Regions from separate parts of the Homo sapiens genome. Here region 1 is linked to region 2. Evidence: promoter capture Hi-C in 16 types of primary human blood cells and fetal thymus (Javierre and others, 2016). All regions are on one chromosome and are shown on one strand. Each heading gives the region's core, a stretch centred on a gene start or on the middle of the fragment in contact. The rest is flanking DNA. Distances are from core to core; before and after follow the strand shown.

Region 1 (5,928 bases), core at 1,352-3,851, 640 kb before region 2:
AAGGAAACAAAATACTATGATTTAACAGGAACAAAACCCAACATTCTTTCAACACAAAGTGTCCACAAGGGAAATGTCGAAGAGAAAATGTCATGATAAAATATTTTTAAGATATAAAATGACTCCAATGCAAAATATTTGTTGTTGTTGATTTTTGTTTTGTTTTTAGCTCAAAGGAGTTATTATTTCTCGTCATTTATGTTCCTTACTTGTGTTTATCCATTCCCACTGGGTCGACAGAAACATTTCAATTTTATTTTCTTTACAGTCTATTTTTCTTCCTGATTCTTCAAGAGTAAGTTCCTTGATCTTAACTTCTATTTATGAAAGTTCTGGCCTGAAAAGAACCTTGAGGGGTTATCGAGTCCATCCTTCTGCTTTCCAGGAGAATTCATAACTAATGCTATCAGATGGATGAGAAGGTATCAAAAGAAAATGCATTGTTTCCCTGCCTAGTAGCATGCTAATTTAATATGCACATTCATTCACGATTTGCAATTTTTTAAAAACGAAAGTAAAAATTAAAATGCCAAAAGAGGAAGGTACTTAAAAAATGCATTTATCAGCTAAAATTGCTCAAACATAAATTCAACTGTCAGGTCTAAAATTAACAAGCAGGAAAAGTTGCTGCCTGCCAATGTAAAGTCTTTAGTCCCTAGAGATGTCTTCTGAAGTTGTATCTCATTTGTAGCACCCTTCACCTACAACACTTAGACCTGGCAAACTTAGACCATCCTTGCCAATAAACTACAATTATAAATGGCAATTGTGTGTGTGTGTGTGTGTTTATAGTTGGTATAGGTTTTTATTCCAAACAGAAAATGAAAAGTTAGGGTCGGACGCGATGGTTCTTGCCTGTAATCCCAGCACTTTGGGACGCTGAGGTAGGTGGATTGCCTGAGCTCAGGCGTTCGAGACCACCCTGAGCAACATGGTGAAACCCCATCTCTACTAAAACACAAAAAGTTAGCCGGGCGCAGTGGTGGGCACCTGTAGTCCCAGCTACTTGGGAGGCTGAGGCATGAGAATTGCTTGAACCTGGGAGGCAGAGGTTGCAGTGAGCCAAGACTGCACCACTGCACTCCAGCCTGGCTGACATAGCAAGACTCTGTCTCCAAAAAAAAAAAAAAAGAAGAAAATGAAAAGTTAGGTCTAAATTGGAGATGTCAACATTACAGGGAAACTACATAAAATTGTTTTCAGAGAGTAGTTTAATTCTTTCATTTCTAAGTTGAAATGTCCAGGGAATAAAGTTTTTTTCCTAAAAGAGTTTCCAAGGGCAGGTGGCTCACACTGTAAGCCCAGCACTTTGGGAGGCCCAGGTGGGCGCATCAACTGAGGCCAGGAGTTTGAGACCAGCCTGCAACATGGTGAAACCACGTCTCTACTAAAAATACAAAAATTAGCCAGGCGTGGTGGCATGTGCCTGCAGTCCCAGCTACTTGGGAGGCTGAGGGGGAGAACTCCTTGAACCCAGGAGGCAGAAGTTGCAGTGAGCTGAGATTACACCACTGCACTGCATCCTGGGAGACAGAGCGAGACTCCGTGTCAAAAAAAAAAAAAAAAAGAAAAAAAAAAGAAGAGTTTCCAAAACAAGCTGGGCATGGGGGCCCAGCCTGTAATTCCAGCACTTTGGGAGGCCAAAGCAGGCAGATCACCTGAACTTAGGAATTCAAGACCAGCCTAGGCAACATGGGAAACTCTGTCTCTACAAAAAATACAAAAATTAGATGGGCACGGTGGCGCACATCTGTAGTCCTAGCTACTCAGGAGGCGGAGGCAGGATAATCACTTGAGCCCAGGAGGCAGAGACTGCAGTGAGCCAAGATGGCGCCATTGCACTCCAGCCTGGGAGACAGAGGGAGACCCTGCCTCAGAAAAAAAAAAAAGTTTCCGAAACAGAATTTCATCTAATGTCAAAAAATCTGGCCAGGCACAGTAGCTCATGCGTGTAATCTCAGCACTTTGGGAGGCTAAGGCAGGAGGACTGTTTGAGCCCAGCAGTTCGAGACCAGCCTGGGAAACATGATGAGACCTCTACAAAAAATAAACAAAATTAGCCAGGCATGGTGGCATGAGCCTTTAGTCTCAGCTACTCAGGAGGCTGAGGTAGGAGGATGGCTTGAGCCTGGGAGACTGAAGCTGCAGTATGAGCCATGATTGTGCCACTGTACTCCAGTCTGGGCAACAGAGTAAGACCCTGTCTCAAAAAAAAACCATGGCCGAGCACGGTGGCTCACGCCTGTAATCCTAGCACTTTGGGAGGCCGAGGTAGGTGGATCACTTGAGGTCAGGAGTTCAAGACCAGCCTGGCCAACATGATGAAAACCCATATCTACTAAAAAAATACAAAAATTAGGCCGGGCGCGGTGGCTCACGCCTGTAATCCCAGCACTTTGGGAGGCCGAGGCGGGCGGATCACGAGGTCAGGAGATCGAGACCATCCTGGCTAAAACGGTGAAACCCCGTCTCTACTAAAAATACAAAAAATTAGCCGGGCGTAGTGGCGGGCGCCTGTAGTCCCAGCTACTTGGGAGGCTGAGGCAGGAGAATGGCGTGAACCCGGGAGGCGGAGCTTGCAGTGAGCCGAGATCCCGCCACTGCACTCCAGCCTGGGCGACAGAGCGAGACTCCGTCTCAAAAAAAAAAAAAAAAAAAAAAATACAAAAATTAGCCAGGTGTGGTGGCACATGCCTGTAATCCCAGCTACTTGGGAAGCTAAGGCCTGAGAATTGCTTGAACCTGGGCGGCAGAGGTTGCAGTAAGCCTGCCACTGCACTCTAGCCTGGGGAACACAGCGAGACTTCGTCTCAAAAAAAAAAAGAAAAAGAAAAAAACCACAACCAAAAGACAGTAACAAAATAACAACAAAAAATCCCTGCAACTATGAAGAAATATGGTTAATTTTCTATAATTATTTGAAAATGAAAAAAAAACAGGACTAGAAGTCTTGGAAATGGGAAAATTATAATTTTTTAAAATGTGGGGCAAGGGAGGTCGAGTACAGAAATCGTAGACTAGTGAAATATTATTTCTCAGAAAGATTCTAAATGAATTATTAAACAGATCACTTATGAACCACTGGCAAGTTATGCAGTGATCTATAAACAGTAGCATAAGATACCCAAACAGCAACTAATATGCAACTTCATTTTCTTTTTTGACAGGGTCACTAGCCTAGGAGTTCAGAGATGTCAGAGGCAGAATATACTGCATTTGGATTTCAACAAGATACCTCTTGCTATTTCATAGAAAATAAAGGTTAGATTATATAAAATGGCAGGTGGGATTCACAACTGAATTTTATCCAAAAGTTGACTAACAGGTTAATGTTAACATAATGATAGTCTACTCATGTTGTATAGCATTGTTCTACCCTTATACATGTTTACCAGTGACCTAAAACAAAAACACAGGTATCATGTTTATCAAATTTATCAATAATACAAACATATGAGAAATGGTCAAGAGGTGAAATGACATTATCAAGCTAAAACAACAAACCAAATTAACAAAATGATAATTACAGGGATAAATGTAAAGTTGTCAAAAAATCAACTACATGGCCGGCGCGGTGGCTCACGCCTGTAATCCTAGCACTTTGGGAGTTCAAGGTGGGTGGATCACTTAAAGTCAGGAGTTCGGGACCAGCCTAGCCAACATGGTGAAACCCCGTCTCTTCTAAAAATACAAAAAAAAAAAATTAGTTGGGTGTGGTGGTGCAGGCCTGTAATCCCAACTACTCTGGTGGCTGAGGCAGGAGAATCGCTTGAACCCGGGAGGCGGAGGTTGCAGTGAAACAAGATCGAGCCACTGTATTCCAGCCTGGGTGACAGAGCAAGACTCTGTCTCAAAAAAAAAAAAAAAAAAAAAATCAACTACACAAACTAATGTGATCTTAGGCTTTAAAAACAGAGGCATAGAGTGCAATAAAATAGAAGTTGTGATTCCCCCCGTAGTTTGTATTTATTAGATTATATCTGAGATGTTCAGACCTAGATGAGGAACCATAAACCACTCAGGTAACTAACTTGATGAAGAGCCTGATCTTTTATTTAAAATGTCACTTAAGAAATCGTACGGGCTGGGCTCAGTGGCTCATGCCTGTAATTCCAGCACTTTGGGAGGCCGAGGTAGGCGGATCACTTGAGGTCAAGAGTTCAAGACCAGCCTGGCCAAAATGGTGAAACCCCGTCTCTACTAAAAATACAAAAATTAGCTAGGCATGGATGGCGGGCACCTGTACTCCCAGCTACTCAGGAGGCTAAGGGACAAGAATCGCTTGAAACCGGAAGTTGGAGGTTGTAGTGAGCTGAGATCGCACCACTGCACTCCAGTCTGGGAAACACAGCAAGACTCCATCTCAAAAATAATAATAATAATAATAATAATAGAAATAGCTGGCCGGGCGTGGTGGCTCACACCTGTAATCCCAGCACTTTGAGAGGCCGAGGAGGGCAGATCACGTGGTCAGGATATTGAGACCATCCTGGCTAACACGGTGAAACTCCGTCTCTACTAAAAATACAAAAAATTAGTCAGGCATGGTGGCGGGCGCCTGCTAGTCCCAGCTACTCGGGAGGTTGAGGCAGGAGAATGGCGTGAACCTGGGAGGCGGGGCTTGCAGTGAGCTGAGATTGTGCCACTGCACTCCAGCCAGGGCAAAAGCGCGAGACTCTGCACTCCAGCCAGGGCAAAAGTGCGAAATTGCGTCTCAAAAAAAAAAAAAAAAATAGCTTAAAGAACTTGGGGTATTTACCCCAGAAGAGATGCCTCCTGTAATCCCAGCACTTTGAGAGACCAAGGTGGGGAGATGGCTTGAGCCTAGGAATTCCAGAAGAGCCTGGGCAATGCAGGGAGACCCAATCTCTACAAAAAATTTAAAAATTAGCCAGGCATGTTGGCATGCGCCTGTGGTCCCAGCTACTTGGAGGCTGGGAGGACTGCTTGAGGCCAAGAGTCCTAGTTACTCAGGAAGCTAGGACTAGAAGATAACTTTAGCCTAGGAGTTCGAGGTTACAATGATCTGTGATCACGTCACTTGCACTCTAGCCTGGGCAACATAGCGAGACCCTGTCTCTAAAAGAATGAAAGCGATAAGTGTCATGAAATACTTGAAGACTACCATGTTAACAAGGAACTAGATTTATTTATTGTGGCTTCAGATAACAGAGCTAAAGAGCTTCAGCACAATGTAAAAAATGTTCTAAAAGTAAAGCTCCAATAATGGAACAGGGTATCTGTGAAGTGGAGACTTTCTCCTTAGAGTATTCAAAAGTCAAAAGACCAACCGTCTTTTAACACATCATACCAACTCTGATGTGTTTTCACATATCATAAATTTATTTGATCCCTCCTAAAAAAACCTTAGGGGAAGGCAACATGTCAAAATGAGTAAATGTCAGAGAAGCTTAAAAATTATTTTCTTTGACATATTTTTAAAGAGACAGAAGACTTTTTCATGAACTCCAAAATCGTAGGACCATTTTCTGAGAAACCAACAACAAAAGAAATGAATGCTTTTTCCTTTTAAATGAATGCTGCATTTGTTTTTCTCAAAGAAACACCTGTACCTTAACTTTAGTACTTTTATTAAGGGATAAGGGACAATTATATACCAGTATGCTAACTAGTCTCAAGAAAAGAGCTAGCTTTATTAGACATTTACGTGGAGTTCTATCTGTTCCACCTAAAACTTCCTTGCAAGGAGAAGGCTCCTCCTTATCAGACGTGGATAGGAGGCTGCTGTAACACTAACTCCCTCCCACTGTAGCCTAGGAAAAACTCGGTCTTGACATGCACAAAACAATAACTTCTGAGAACTTCAGAGCAGCTGTGTTCAGACAGAGCCAGTGACTTTACTCCAGGCAAAGAAGTAGTTTAAGAGTTGGTTGAAAAAACAATTTTCATTTTGGGTTGGAAATGAGG
Region 2 (5,141 bases), core at 1,573-4,072:
GGGAATTACTTCTTAGGTTTTAAATCCAGTATTTATGCTTATTCCTCTAACAGCACTGTGAATTAATCAATAACATTTTAAGATCATCTAACAAGATTACAGCTCAACTGAAGGGGGAGGGGAAAGGCTCGATCCTTCTACAACACGATCAGTACAAACCACCCATCACTTAATCCAGCCCACCAGAGCACTTTGGGCAATCCCATTTTACCGTCTGTCACAGAACAGTTAATTAAAATTGCTTGAGGGGAAAAATAACAGGAAACAGGGGAGGGGAAGTATTTTAAAGACACTATATAACTTTCCTTCTTTGGGGGGATTACTAGAGACAAAATCCAAAGACATGAAGCACTACCAAAACAACAACCAAAAAAAAAAAAAAAAAAAACCCCTTTTAACTAAAATTAGAGGTGGAGGGCCAGGTGCAGTGGCTCATGCCTGTAATCCCAGAACTTTGGGAGGCCGGGACGGGGCAATCATTTGAGGTCACGTGCTCAAGACTAGCCTGACCAACGTGGTGAAACCCCGTCTCTACTAAAAATACAAAAAAATTAGCCAGGTGTGGTGGCAGGCGCATATAGTCCCAGCTCCTCAGGGGGCTGAGGGAGGAGAAATCGCTTGAACCCAGGAGGCAGAGGTTGCAGTGAGCCTAGATCGCACCACTGCACTCCAGCCTGGGCGACAAGAGTGAGACTGTCTCGAAAAAATAAAACAAAATGAATTTAGGTGGAAAAAAATTCCTAAGAAGCTTAAAAAAAAAAAAGAGGAGAGCAGTTCTGCCACAACCTAATGGTTGATAAATTTAAACCACTTATAGGTTGCTCTATAATGTTATAAAACAGATTTTTAAATAATTATTCATCACCTGATACATTATTAATATACAACTCTCTGTATCAGTATGTCTCAATACTTGAGAAAAGGAGTACTAGGATAAATAAAAAAGATATATAGAGACTTGAAATACTGTAAGTTTTCCATTCTTCTGGCTCTAAAGAACATTTTAGAGAGCTCCAAAACTCTACTCTGCTTTATAGATGTGGGAACTTTAAAGCCAGAAGTGGCTGCCATAGGAGAGTAAGAAAAAGGGACAATCAAAAGCAAAGAACTCAGTTGAGCCAGGAACAGTGGCTCACACCTGTAATCCCAGCACTTTGGGAAGCCGAGGCAGGTGGATTACCTGAGGTCAGGAGTTCGAGACCAGCCTGACCAACATGGTGACGCCCCATCTCTACTAAAAATGCAAAAATTAGCCAGACATAGTAGCACTTGCCTGTAATCCCAGCTACTTGGGAGGCTAAGGCAGGAGAATCGCTTGAACCTGGGAGGCAGAGGTTGCAGTGAGCCGAGACTGCGCCACTGCACTCCAGCCTGAGCAACAAGAGCGAAACCGTCTCAAAAAAAAAAAAAAAAGAACTCAGTTGAGAAGAAGCACAATGGTGACTATTACGACTGTCAAACAGAAGAAACCATAGGGTGTAAGACCAAAGTAGAAATTTTTTTCTTTTTTCTTTTTTTTTTTTGAGACGGAGTCTCGCTCTGTCACCAGGCTAGAGTGCTGTGGCGCCATCTCGGCTTACTGCAACCTCCAACTCCCTGGTTCAAGGGATTCTCCTGCCTCAGCCTCCCAAGTAGCTGGGATTACAGGCATGTGCCACCACGCCCAGCTAATTTTTGTATTTTTAGCAGAGATGGGGTTTCATCATGTTGGCCAGGATGGTCTCGATTTCCTCATCTTGTGATCCGCCCACCTGGGCCTCCCAAAGTGCTGGGATTACAGGCATGAGACACTGCACCCGGCCAGAAATTTTTTAATTACAAAAGATTTCCTCAGATTTGAATGGACCATCAGCAAACCTCCAATTAAAAACGGCATTTTTCAACTCTTACCTTTTAACTTTTCATAATTAAGGGATATAAAAACAATAACAAACATTTAAATAGGATCCTGACTCTGATTAACTTGCCATGTGTTATCCTGAGTAAATAAATTTTCCATCTAACCCCGGCATCATTTAAACGGGCTAAATAAATCTGTACTACCTGCCCTACGTACCTCCGAGGGAAAAAGTGAGTTTATGTTGAAACCAAAGATCTATTAAGTCCCCCAAAAAGAACCTTCTGTAAAAATATGTCAGGGCTGAATACAACAGCAGAAGAAAATATGTGACCTTCCAAATTCCTAAGCTAGTAAACCATATCACATGCAGTAACTCCTGCAGCTCAACACATTAGTAGATAGCAAGAAAAAGAGGAACAGTGTCTTTGTTAACTAGGCACTGGAAAACGAATAAACCTTCAGAGAACAGGGTAGGTACGTTCTCTCTCAAGGGCAAAATACTTATTCCTTAAAACTCAGACAAACTTTAAAGATGGCAGAATGAAAAGACTAATAGTAACTCTGTGAAGGAATAAGGAACAGGAGAGAATGACAGCAATACTAACATTTTGGTGAAACCTTTCAGAGAAAGAAAAGTGAATTTAATGAGGAAAGAGACAAAAATATTCTGGTGTCCACCCCTCCCCACAAAACATCAGAAAATAAAGATTGAGTTCAATTCCCTCCTTTCCACCCTTAAGAACTGCCTAAAGGGCACATGGGCCGAGGTCCTTTTCTTTTTGGGAAATGGGTTTTGTAACCACTGACAAATCGAATTGGGCCTGATGCCAGGAGTCAGAGTACAACCATAATATTCTTTAAAGGATGGCATGCAATTGTCTTGTAAATCTCCTAGACAGTCACAGATCAGAAGCTGGCAAGGATGACGACATAGTTCTGATGGAATGTGTCTTATCTTAACCTTGAAGTTACAGATCTGCTCAGGAGCAGCAGTAAGAAATGAGAAATGCACTCAGACATCGGAGGGGACATAATTCTCTTTTAGACAGTGTGACCCGGAGTATTAGGGTCAAATGAAACACAAAGCCAGTCAAACAATTTAAGGGCTAGAGCCTAGACCAGATAAAGCATCAAGACTGGTGGTTCACACTGAGCTTAGGAGGAGGGAGCTTTCCAGCATGAGAAATGAGACATGGCTGGCAGGATGATGGAGTGATTAAGATAGAATCCCAATACCATGACAGAGGAAAAGAAGATGAGCCTCTGAACACAACCTTATCCTTGTGGAAATCTCCAAGGGAAAGGGTGAGTAGCTTCTCAAATTTCTGGAGTCTTTCAGGCATAACAGCTCTCAGCCTTCTCTCTTAAATATACATAGGAACTATCTGGTAAAGCTACCAATAACTATAGATTACAGCACCTAAGGCCCATTGAGATGAGAAAAGAGGCTGGGCGCGGTGGCTCACGCCTGTAATCCCAGCACTTTGGTAGGCCGAGGCGGGCAGATCTCCTGAGGTCAGGAGTTCCAGACCAACCTGGCCAACATGGTGAAACCCTGTCTCTACTAAAAATACAAAAATTAGCCAGGTGTGGTGGCAGGCACCTGTTATCTCAGCTACTTGGGAGGCTGAGGCAGGAGAATCACTTGAACCCAGAAGATGGAGGTTGCAGTGAGCCGAGATCAAGCCATTGCACTCCAGCCTGGACAACAAGGGCAAAACTCCGTCTCAAAAAAAAACCAAACAAAAAACTTATCAGTCCTCAGCAATTACAGAGAGGGCATCACAAGCAAGCTAGGGCAACCCAGAAAAACAAGAGGTAGGCCGGCACAGCGGCTCTCGCCTGTAATCCCAGCACTTTGGGAAGCCAAGGCAGGTGGATCATGAGGTCAGGAGTTTGAGACCAGCCTGGCCAACATGGTGAAACCCCGTCTCTACTAAAGACACAAAAAAATTAGTCAGGCGTGGTGTAATCCCAGCTACTCGGGAGGCTGAGGCAGTTACGCACCTGTAATCCCAGCTACTCAGGAGGGTGAGGCAGGAGAATCGCTTAAACGGGAGGCGGAGGTTGCAGTGAGCTGAGATCGCGCCACTGCACTCCAGCCTGGGCAACAGGGTAAGACTCTATCTCAAAAAAAAAAAAAAAAAAAAAGAAAAGAAAAAAGAAAAAAAAAGGCCAGGCGCAGTGGCTCACGAGGTCAGGAGATTGAGACCATCCTGGCTAACATGGTGAAACCCTGTCTCTACTAAAAATACAAAAAATTAGCCAGATGTGGTGGCGGGAGCCTGTAGTCCCAGCTACTGGGGAGGCTGAGGCAAAAGAATGGTGTGAACCCAGGAGGCGGGGCTTGCAGTGAGCCGAGATCGCACCACTGCACTCCAGCCTGGGAGACAGCGTGAGACTCCGTCTCAAATAAAAAAGAGGTAATGGTTAGCCCTCAGCATTGACCGTTTAATGCTGGAAGAACCCACATAGGGTCCCTGGTATCTGTCTGCTTTGTCCAGTTCAGGTTCTACTCTCATCCCTCCAGTCATTTCTTTTTTGAGACAGGGCCTCGTTCTGTTGTTCAGGCTGCAGTGCAGTGGTGCGGACAGTTTATTGCAGTCTCAAACTCCTGGGCTCAAGCAATCCTCTCACCTTGGCCTTCTGAGCAGCTGGGACCACAGGGGCACGCCACCATGCCTGGCTACATTTTTTTATTTTTTGGTGAGATGCAGTCTCACTGTGTTGCCCAAGCTGGTCTCAAACTTCTGGGCTGAAGCAATCCTCCTGCCTTACCCCCACAAAGCAGTCACTACTTCTCAATACCAATTCTGGTGGCTTTTCTTATCTTGTTATAGTCATTTCATTTTCATCACCACTTATGAGCAAAAGTACACATAATTCTAGATCTTTCACTAAGCTTTCTTCTTATTAAGAATGAAAGCCAGCCGGGCGCAGTGGCTCATGCCTGTAATCCCAGCACTTTGGGAGGCCAAGGTGGGTGGATCACCTGAGGTCGGGAGTTTGAGACCAGGCTGGCCAACATGGCGAAACCCCATCTCTACTAAAAATACAAAAATTAGCCAGGTGTGGTGGCAGGTGCCTGTAATCCCAGCTACTGGGGAGGCTGAGGTAGGAGAATCGCTTGAATCTGGGAGGTAGAGGTTGCAGTGAGCCAAGATTGCGCCACTGCACTCTAGCCTGGGAGACAAGAGTGAAACTCCATCTCAAAGAAAAAAAAAAAGAAAAAGAAAGCCAATTGGTAAGCTGCCTCACTGAACTACCCACTGAATTAAAGATGGTAATCAAACCAAATGTC

What was found. The method cuts DNA at HindIII sites, captures the fragments that hold promoters and counts their contacts. A CHiCAGO score of 5 or more calls a contact.
Region 1: a contact is called between a fragment that was not itself captured here and the fragment with the promoter of SCAT2 in region 2, in 1 of 17 cell types (erythroblasts). The highest score is 5.2, in erythroblasts.

The regions. Positions count from the first base shown.
Region 1 is chr12:53,617,937-53,623,864 of GRCh38, forward strand. All of the region lies in intron 1 of ATF7-NPFF (ATF7-NPFF readthrough), which reads right to left. All of the region lies in intron 1 of ATF7 (activating transcription factor 7), which reads right to left. Among named protein-coding and RNA genes, the nearest start is that of ATF7, 5.5 kb to the right of the region's middle. The HindIII fragment of the contact is 5,613 bases long and covers 1-5,408 here.
Region 2 is chr12:54,259,793-54,264,933 of GRCh38, forward strand. SCAT2 (S-phase cancer associated transcript 2) reads left to right here and starts at 2,823. Exons shown (of 2, transcript NR_157844.1): 1 at 2,823-3,145. All of the region lies in intron 1 of CBX5 (chromobox 5), which reads right to left. The HindIII fragment of the contact is 3,994 bases long and covers 747-4,740 here.